Linked DNA regions of Homo sapiens: region 1 is linked to region 2. Evidence: promoter capture Hi-C in human tissues and cell types (Jung and others, 2019). All regions are on one chromosome and are shown on one strand. Each heading gives the region's core, a stretch centred on a gene start or on the middle of the fragment in contact. The rest is flanking DNA. Distances are from core to core; before and after follow the strand shown. Region 1 has its middle 76 kb from the start of CLDN10-AS1. Region 2 holds the start of ABCC4 (ATP binding cassette subfamily C member 4 (PEL blood group)).

Evidence for each region. Contacts are between HindIII fragments. The study calls those that stand out against the background at their distance.
Region 1: a fragment that was not itself captured here is called in contact with the fragment with the promoter of ABCC4 in region 2 in 1 of the 25 tissues and cell types used here (H1 embryonic stem cells).

Annotation. Positions count from the first base shown.
Region 1 is chr13:95,455,382-95,460,218 of GRCh38, forward strand. It overlaps a transcript of CLDN10 not described here. Among named protein-coding and RNA genes, the nearest start is that of CLDN10-AS1, 76 kb to the right of the region's middle. RefSeq lists an enhancer at 2,250-2,309. The HindIII fragment of the contact is 9,460 bases long and covers 1-4,837 here.
Region 2 is chr13:95,298,211-95,303,612 of GRCh38, forward strand. It overlaps ABCC4 (ATP binding cassette subfamily C member 4 (PEL blood group)), which reads right to left and starts at 3,241. Exons shown (of 31, transcript NM_005845.5): 1 at 3,031-3,241. The coding sequence starts at 3,104. LOC102724149 (a long non-coding RNA gene) reads left to right here and starts at 2,741. Exons shown (of 3, transcript XR_429273.4): 1 at 2,741-3,053; 2 at 3,736-4,116. RefSeq lists enhancers at 1,524-1,583, 3,186-3,960 and silencers at 2,777-3,416, 3,447-3,506, 3,687-3,746. The HindIII fragment of the contact is 21,021 bases long and covers 1-5,402 here.

The DNA.
Region 1 (4,837 bases), core at 2,016-4,515, 160 kb after region 2:
TGGTTTATTTCTTTGTGAAGTTTTTGATTGAATTAAAACACCAATATAAATTGGACTTAAACTGTCTAATGGCAAATTTTCTATAATAAACAAAATTCTAAAATCCTAGAGAACAGAAACTGTGGCTTATAGTTCTGCCTCCACTGCACAGTACTTACTTAGCTTCGTGCATGGTAAAAATAAGGGTTCTGTAAGTTCATTTGTTGGGTGAATGGATTTATTTATTCATGAATAAATTCTTTATTCATGAAAGAACTTATTTATTCACTCATTACATTTCTTCCTTTGTTTGCATTTTACCTTTCATTTTGTTTATTCTTTGGACTCAATAACACTTTTCATATCATTTTCAATAAGAGAGTTGAATAACTGTATATTGACCTGAATTGAAAAGAGAAATGGAAACAGAAAATCTTTAGCAAATTGAACTAAAAATCTCCCAGTGAGTTACAAATTAATCCAGTGAAATGTTCCGGATGTTTTGGATGAGGGAATTCTATTTCATACAGGTCACACTCCCTTACCAACCTCAGGCCTGGCTGAAGGAAGATTCTTCTAATCCAAAACATCCTGCAATTTTAATTTAATTATGAAACAGCATGTTGTGCTAGCTAAGTTAGACTTCAAGATGACTTAGCAGAAATCCCCTGGTTTGATAATAAATACAGATGCCATCCAGTGCAATAAAAATGACTGCATCAGGCCAGAGGCAGGTACAAAAAAGCTGAAAGAGGCTTTTATTTATTGTGATGCCAGAGGCAATAAAATTGTGTATCATTTGGGGTGAAACTTTTAATTTCATATCTTGTAGGTATTAAACTACACTTGCTATCTGCACATCCAAGTAAATCGTCTCCCATCTTTACTCCCTGTCTTTACTTTCACAAAAATCTTAATTCTGGGTTCTGCCAACGCTGCTTTCTTACCTATTCCTTGTCTGTTCCTTGTCTCCACAAATCTCCCAACCCCTTTCCCATATCTACTCTCCTATTCCACCCCACTTTTCTCTAAGGAACTCCAGGAAGCAGAGGTGAAACCCCTGTCCAAGAATATTCAAATATGTATTTATTCCTTCATGCAACAAAAATCAGCCTAGCATGGTGACTCACTCTTGTAATCTCAGCACTTTGAGAGGCTGAGGCAGGAGGATTGCTTAAGGCCAGGAGTTCAAGACCAGCTTGGGCAACATAATAAGACGCCTGTCTCCACAAAAAATTAAAAAAAAAATTAGCTGGTCATGATGGAGCACAGCTTAGTCTCAGTTACTTAAGAGGTTGAGATGGGAGGATTGCTTGAGCCTAGGAATTCAAGGCTGCAGTGAACTGTCATCATGCCACTACACTCCAGCTTGTGCTACAGAGGGAGACCCTGCACAAAACGAAACAAAACAAAATGAAACAAAAACAAAATGAAAACATTCATTAGGCATCTCCTATGCATAAGGCATTTTGCTTTGTTTGTAAAGACAGATCACAAAAAAGCAAGTTATTTTGTCTATTCTCCAAGGGAGATTTAAATTTGCAGGCAGGATTGAAGCAGAATGAGAAATAGGAAAAAGATGGAGCTGATATGTACAAATATGTAAGACAGATGGAGTCTCTGCCAGGCTGTAAATAGCATAGGTCCTAAACCAAACTCATCATGTTCCTCTGCAAAAGCACTTCCTCCCACAGCCTTCCTGTTGCGTCTCGGTCCCGCAAGTGTTCCTGTGATCCAGAAGCATTTTATTGCACCCATCTTCTGGTCACCTCTGTTGTTGTGTATGCATTTGCTTGTTTCTTTAGCAGGACTATGTCTTAACCCTGGCATATGGAGGCAGATCCAATTCCTAGTCCATCCACATCTCTGGAGATTATTCCAGTTTTCAGCATTAATAAGTTACTAAAAAAAAATTGTTGAGTTAAATTATGTTCTTACCATTGCACAAGCTTACAAAATCTGCTTCAGATCAAACAGCCATCTTCTACATTGCAGAGTTTGTTTCGTATGCAAATGGATCCTCTTTCGTTGAGAAGCCAGGTGTGTAGAAACTCAGGGAGGACCAAAGCAAGGTGCTGGGGCTCTGTGTTCTGTGCAGTCTTGGGAACTGACAGAGCAGTTGTGGTTATCTGTTTGACCTTGTACTTGGTGAATCACATACTGATGTAGGGGGATTCCCTGTTGCTACCACTATTTGTTCCATTCTCTAGTTTCCTACTCGAGTTTCAGATACTCTGCAACTAGAAATGACCTTAGTTCTTCCCAGTTATCAGATATTATTTTCTGACCCTCAGTTTCGCTGGGGATGCCACTAGCCTGGCATATGAATGGTTTTCAAATAAGAATCTCTTCCAAACAGAAGAGGCAGCCTGGGTATATAGTGATGGTTTCTGCCCTTTTTCTAGGGTGTACTCTCTTGAAGACCCTCTAGGAAGCCAAAACTGCACTGGGCATATCTGCAGCAATCTCTGTCATCTCATTAGGGTATGTTGAAAATAAGTCAACCTGTGAGTTAGCTATTGTCAGAAAATTGCTATGTAACCAACAACCACAGATCCTCATGGTCAACAACAATAATGAACATTCATTTCTTGTACCTGTGAAGTTCAGCTAATCTAGGCTGGACTTTGCTGATCTCAACTGGACTCAACTTATGCACCTGGGGTCTAATGGGGGTTGGCTGACCTTAGATGAGGTTGGCTGGGGTGACTTGGTTCTGCTCTACCTGTCTACCTCCTAGAACAGTAGGCTTGCCTGAGCATATACTTTTCATGGCAAAAACACAGCAAAACAAGCTCAATTACATGAGTGGTTGTGTAGACCTCTGATTGTATCATGTCTATGACATCCCATTGGTCAAAGCAAGTCATATGGCCAAACACAGAGTCAAGAGGTAGAGAAATAGCCTCCGTGTTTTTGTTGTTCTTGTTGTTTTGTTTTTTGAGACAAAGTGTTGCTCTGTGACCCAGGCTGGAGTGCAGTGGTGATCATGGCTGTATTAGTTCATTTTCACATTGCTATAAGGAAATACTTGAGACTGGGTAATTTATAAAGGAAAGAGGTTTAATCAACTCATGCTTCTGCATGGCTGGAAAGGCCTCAGGAAACTTACAGTCATGGTGGAAGGTGAAGGGGAAGCAAGCCACCTTCTTCACAGGCAGCAGGAAGGAGAAGTGATGAGTGAAGGGGGAAGAACCTCTTATAAAACTATCAGATCTTGTGAAAACTCACTATTACCAGAAGAGCATGGGGGAAACTGCTCCCATGATTCAATTACCTCCACCTGGTCTCTCCCTTGACACACAGGGATTATGGGGATTATGGGGATCACAATTCAAGATGAGATTTTGGGTGGGGACACAGCCAAACCACATCATTCTGCCCCAGCCCCTCCCAAATCTCATGTCCTCACATTTCAAAACATAATCATGCCTTTCCAATTGTCCCCCAAATTCTTAACTCATTCCAGTATTAACCCAAAAGTCCAAATCCAAAGTCTCATCTGAAACAAGTCAAGTACCTTCCACCTATGAGCCTGTAAAATCAAAAGCAAGTTAGTTACTTCTGAGATGCAATGGGAGTACAGCACTGGGTAAATACACCTGTTACAAATGGGAGAAATTGGCCAAAACAAAGGGGCTACAGACCCCATGCAAGTCCAAATTCAGTGGGGCAGTCATTAAATCTTAGAGCTCCAAAATATCTCCTTTGACGCCATGTCCTACATCCAGGTCACACTGATGCAAGAGGTGGTCTCCCATGGCCTTGGACAGCTCTGTTCCTGTGGCATTGCAGGGTACAACCCCACTCCTGGCTGCTTTCACAGGCTGGCGTTGAGTGTCTGCAACTTTTCCAGGTGCATGGTGTAAGCCGTCAGTAGATCTACCATTATGGGGTCTGGAGGACAGTGGCCCTCTTCTCACAGCTCCACTAGGCTATGCCCTAGTAGGGACTCTGTGTGGGGGCTCTGACCCCACCTTTCCCTTCCACACTACCCTACCAGAGGTTCTCCATGAGGGCTCCACCCCTGCCACAAACTTCTTCCTGGACATCTGGGCATTTCCATACATCCTCTGAAATCTAGGCAGAGGTTCTCAAACCTCAATTATTAACTTCTGTGCACCTGAAGGCCCAACACAATGTGTAAACTGCCAAGGCTTGGGACTTGCACCCTCTGAAACAATGGTCTGCGCTGTACATTGGCCCATTTTAGCCATGGCTAGGATGCAGGGCACCAAGTCCTGAGACTGGACAAAGTAGCAAGACCCTGGATCTGGCCCATGAAACCAGTTTTTCCTCCTAGGCCTCCAGGCCTGTGATGGAAGGGGCAGCCATGAAGACCTCTGACATGCCCTGGAGACATCTTCTCCATTGTCTTGGTGACTAACATTTGGTTCCTCATTACTTATGCAAATTTTTCCAGCCTGCTTGAATTTCTCCCCAGAAAATGGGGTTTTCTTTTATATTGCATTGTCAGGCTGCAAATTTTCTAAACTTTATGCTCTGCTTCCCATTTAAATATAAGTTACAATTCCAAATCATCTCTTTGTGAATGCATACAACTGAATGCTTTCAAGAGCACCCAAGTTACCTCTTGAACACTTTGCTTCTTAGAAATTTCTTCTGCCAGATACCCTAAATCATCTCTCTCAAGTTCAAATTTCCACAGATCTCTAGGGCAGGGGCAAAGTGCTTCCAGTCTCTTTGCTAAAGCACAGCAAGAGTCACCTTTATTCCAGTTCCCAAAAAGATCCTCATCTCCATCTGAGACCACCTCAGCCTGGACTTCATTGTCAATATCACTATCAGTATTTTGGTCAAAGTCATTCAACAAGTCTCTAGAAACTTTCAAACTTTT
Region 2 (5,402 bases), core at 1,991-4,490:
CCCAGGAGGCAGAGGTTGCAGTGAGCAGAGATTGCACCACTGCACTCCAGCCTGGGTGACAGAGCTGAGCAACAGAGAAAGACTCCGTCTCAAAAAAAAGAAATAAAGAAATTTTAACAATTAAAAATAAAGAAAAGCATAATACTGTAATAATACTCCAATGAAAGGAGTAGCTGGAAGCAGTAAGCGCCTCAAATCAGGATCACCTGGAGCACTTGAAACCTCACCACCCCCACCCACACACCCAGTGTTTCCAGTTTTACTGAATCAGTCCAGAGTGGATGCTGGAGAATCTGCATCTCTTAGAATCTCCCAAGTGATGCCGATGCTGCTGCTCTGAGTGCTATGCTTTGAGAACAGCTGCCCTAAAGCACACTAATAGTTGTTACACATGCATCATCTCCAACTGCAGGTACTTTAAGAATTTCCCTTGAGAAACTCTAGCCTTCCAGAACAGGGAGCGCCTTCTCCATGCATTTCCGACAGCACCTGAACTGGAAGCAGCTCAGTACAGCAGCTCCAAAGAGGCTGGGGAGCCAGTCTGCCCAGCTTTGGAGCCTGCTCTGACACTTGATTGTTGTGTGAGTCCAGGCAACTTAACCACTCTCAGCTTAAGTGTCCTCGGAGTAAAACAGAGGTCTACTAGCTCCTTCCCTTCCATCAGGGAAACCGGAAATGAACACCTACTCAAGTCATCAATGGGAGCGCATCACTTCCTATTTCCCTGCCACCTACATTTTGAAAATGCAGGGGGAGAAAAATATAAGGAGGCAGGAGTCACATCTGTAATCCCAGACTTTGGGTGGCCGAAGCGGGAGGAACACTTGAGCCCAGGAGTTCAAGACCAGCCTGAGCAACAACATAGAGAGCCCTATCTCTACAAAAAAAATTTTTTTTTATTATCCGGGCATGGTGACACACACCTGGAGCCCCAGCTACTCGGGAGGCTGAGGCAGGAGGATTGCTTCGGCCCAGGAGTTGGAGGCTGCAGCAAGCTATGAATGTGTCACTGCCCTCCAGCCTGGGTCACAGCTTGCACAAAGCAAGATCCTGTCTCAAAAAAAAAAAAAAAAAGTTCCTTGCCCTGCCTGAAGTTGAGGAGACCATTTGTCTACCTCAAGTTATTATTTGCAGAAACCACACCCATATTCCTTCCTCCTCCACGTGCCCCTCTCCTTAAGAGAAAGGCCGCCAAACAACCAAGAGAAGTTCCTACACCCACTGAGTGTACCACAATCGAAACAAGAGTAAGCGACTCATCCTCTTGGAATCCCCTAGGTCAAGCTTGTCCAACCTGAGGCCCATGGGCTGCCAAATTCGTAAGCTTTCTTAAAACATCAGATTTTTTTTTGCGATTTTTTTTTAGCTCATCAGCTATCATTAGTGTTAGTGTATGATTAGTGTTAGTGTATTTTATGTATGGCCCAAGACAATTCTTCCAGTGTGGCCCAGGGAACCCAAAAAATTGGAGACCCCCACCCTAGGTTGTCCCATAATAAAAGGCAATATCAACATGTGGGAAAGATGAGGCGGCAGAGGTCAAGAAACAGAAGATCTAATAATCATCCAAGTGAGATTGAAGCCCTTCAAAGGTTCAGGCTTATGTAGTTAGCAGACGGAATTCCCCCACACACACCCGCCACTCCCCCAAGACGGAGTCTCACTCTGTCACCCAGGCTGGAGTACAGTGGGGCGATCTCAGCTCACTGCAACCTCCGCCTACTGGGTTCAAGCAATTCCCCTGCCTCAGCCTCCTGAGTAGCTGGGATTACAGGCGTGCTCCACCACACCCGGCTAATTTTTGTATTTTTAGTAGAGACGGGGTTTCACCATGTCAGCCAGGCTGGTCTCGAACTCCTGACCTCGTGATCCACCCACCTCTGCCTCCCAAAGTGCAGGGATACAGGCGTGAGCCACCGCGCCAGGCCAAGATGGAAATTTTAGTTACTACTGTCACCCGAGTCTTTCTCCGTTTGTTTCCTTGCACAAAATGGGTAGGGCTGTGGGCCCTCCCAGCTCAGGAGCCCTGGGGTGGTTTTAAGAAGGTAGAACTCCTGGTAGGAACCACCTGCATCAAGACCATGGATCACCTCTCTGAAGGTTAGCGATTCCAGGGACCCCACCTCCGAGCTGTCCTCCTACGTGGAAGTGAAAGTATTGGAAACAGGGGAAAGAAGCTGGTCAAAGACAGACTCCAGTCGTGGCGGTGCATGTCCCAGTTAAAAGCAAATCCTGGAAAATCTTGTTCAAGAACAGGGTCCCCATTCATAAATGAAAAATAATAATAGTGTTATTTTACCCACATGAAACTTGCCATAACTAGGTACCACGACCCACATGGACACACAGTGAGATTCCCACAAAGAGGCAAAAGGAGAGCCCTGGTCACTGAGACAAAAGATACAGAGACACCGGGACACAGAGAGGTACAACGGGACGTGGAGTTGGATCGAGCTGTCTCGTAAGGAATATCGGAAGGGGTGGGGACACTACTGGGAGATGGCATAGGTCCAGGACACTAATTAGGCTTTGGCTGAGATCAGATAAAGGAAACTGTTCGTAAGCTGCTTACTTAAAAAGAAAGGAAAAGGTGCGTTTGAGTTCAGGAGACTGCGAGTCCCAGAGCAGGAGGCGGGAGCCAGCGAAGGGTGGGCGTGTAAGGGGTGCAGTCGCTTCTCCCGCTGGGCAAGAGACTCCCCCTTTCGGCAGCCTGGGTTCCCCGCCTCCCCACCTCCTGCTCCTCCTCCCCCGAGCCCTAAGGGCCCGCAGGGCCTCCAGTAGCAAAGCCACTGGCCCCGCGTCCCCGCGTCCCCCTGCGCCGCGCCCCGGGGCGCAGGCAGGGACCACGCGGCCGGCGTGGGGGCGGCGCCACCCGCAGCAGAAAGCCCCGGCGTGGACCGCGTGGCGTAGGAAAGCGCTCCCCTCGCCCCCAGCCGCAGAGGGCTTGGGCAGCATCGGGCGCGGCCCCGGGAGAGTGCGTCCGCGGCGCCAGCGGCTGCAGGGTGACCTGTTTCGGGCGGGGACACTCACCAGAAGAACACGCGTGAGCAGAGGTTCGCGTCCTGCAGCGGGTTGGGCTTCACCTCCTGGTACACGGGCAGCATCTTGCCGGGCGGGGCGGGCGCGGGCCGGGGTCGCGCTGATCAGGCGGCGGTGGCCGCGGGCTCCGCTCCTGGACCTCAAGCAGGGATGCTGGGGCTCCGGCCGCCACGCCTGTCCGCTCGGCTGGAGCCTGTGAAGCAGCCGCTTCCGGGAGCCGGGCGCCGGCGGCACGCCCCGTCCCCGCCTCTCAGGCCCGCCGCCTCGGGGGCGCCCGCTACGCGCCGCCGCCTGGAGCCCGGGAGCTGCGCACCGCGTGCGAGCGCGGCCGGGACCGACGGGTGACGCGGCGGGAGGAGACGCGGCGGGAGGAGGCGAAGCTGGCGACGCCAAAGGGAGCCCAGAGCTACGCCCAGGGGTGAGGCGAGGGCCGCCTGCGCCGCTGGATGGAGAGGGTAGCAGAGCGCGCGGCAAGGAGGCCGGGTCCGGAGGTGCCCACGTGCACGAACCCGAGTGAAACTTTCCGAAATTCACTATCCGAGTCTAGGCGCCGACACAGAAGGTGGAGCAGGGAGGCGTCGGCTGTGCCCGCCCCTGCGCCGCAGAAACGCCCCCTCGGCTACGGGTTTGGGAAGACTGGGAGACAGCTGCCTCGTGCTCTAGCAGCCCGCCCCCTGGGCGCCTTTCCCTTCTCAGGACCAAACGACGGTGCCATGGGAGGCTCTTCAACCTGTGAGCCAAACATTTGACCTTGGACGACAGCAAAGTTTAGCCACAGATTATCCTTGTAGAGCTGCAAGACCTCAAGAAAGCCGGGTAACTCGAGAGTATGACCCAGATGAATTCGGGAGATGGATGAATGCTGTCGTCGATGGGGGCGGGCTTTAGGCATCTCACATGTTGCATGCTACGGTGGACCTCTGAGCTTTTTGCTGCCCCCTTAGATTGGGAAAGGAATATAAGAGGAAAGAGAGACTGCCTGATGATTTCTGTCGTCAAGCCCTAAAGCCTAACAGATAACAGTGGCAAACGACACGTGGGTTCCAGAATACCAGTGATGTTCATGTGCATTTCTGAGTGCGTAGCCTCACTAGTGTGTGTGTGTGTGTGTGTGTGTGGCAGTCTCACACACAGTGTCACGATTATGGCTCATTGCACCCTCGACCTCCCAGGGCTCAAGCAATCCTCCCAACTCAGTTTAAGTAGCTAGGACTACAGGCACCCGCCACCACACCCGGCTCATATTTTGTAATTTTTGTAGAGATGCAAAAATCAAAATCAAAGGCTCCAAGTTCAAATACTGATAATTTTTGAAGCCAAATGATTGTCATGGAGGTTTATTTTCTTCATATTTCATGCATGTTTGAGAATTTGGTTTTCTTTGTAATAAGATCATTTTATTGTTCCTTGATAATTTCTCACTTTGTTGCCCAGGCTGGTCTCAAACTCCTAGGCTCAAGTGATCCTCCCACCGTGGCCTCCCAAAGTGCTAGGATTACAGGCATGTACCACCACGCCCGACCAATTATCTCACTTTTAATTCTATCAGTGCCCCATTCAAGGTTATCCTTACTTTATAGATGAGGAAGGTGAAGCTGAAAGGCAGAACTTGTCCAGTCTTAGAGCCAAGAAAGGATAAAACATGATTTGCAATAAGCCTATGTCTAAGCATGGCCTGTCTCCCTGGTGGATGGCCAGTGTGCATGAGAAGTGCCCAGAATATGCTGGTTGAATGGCTGTAGGAATGAATGAACAAAATCTTGTTCCAAGCTTGTGTACTCCCACCTCTAAGTCTTCAGTCATTTCTGTGGCTACCTTAACAAGGTCAGCAGCTGCTCTTCATATCCACCCTGAATGAAAAAAAATGAAAGGCTCCAAGTTCATGGTGCTTGGAACAAGATCATTTTATTGTTCCTTGATAATTTCCCATGTATATTTGCTAAAATAGTATAGTTAATAGCTTTTAAAGAAAGCCTTACACAAACACATATTTAAAAGTCAAGCACAGGCTAGCCAGCATAGTGAGGCTCTGTCTCTACCAAAAGTTTTAAAAATTAGCCCAGGTGTGGTGGCGTACCCTTGTAGTCCCAGCTACTCGAGAGGCTGAGACAGGAGGATGGCTTTAGCCCAGGAGTTCCAGGCTACAAGGAGTTAAGAAGGTGCCCACTGGGCTGGGCACAATGGCTCACGCCTATAATCCTAGCACTCTGGGAGGCTGAGGCAGGTGAATCACCTGACGTCAGGAGTTCGAGACCAGCCTGGCCAACATGGTGAAACCCCATCTCTACTAAAAATACAAAAAATTATCTGGGTGTGGTGGTGGATGCCTGTAATCCCAGCTACTCAGGAACCTCAGGCAGAAG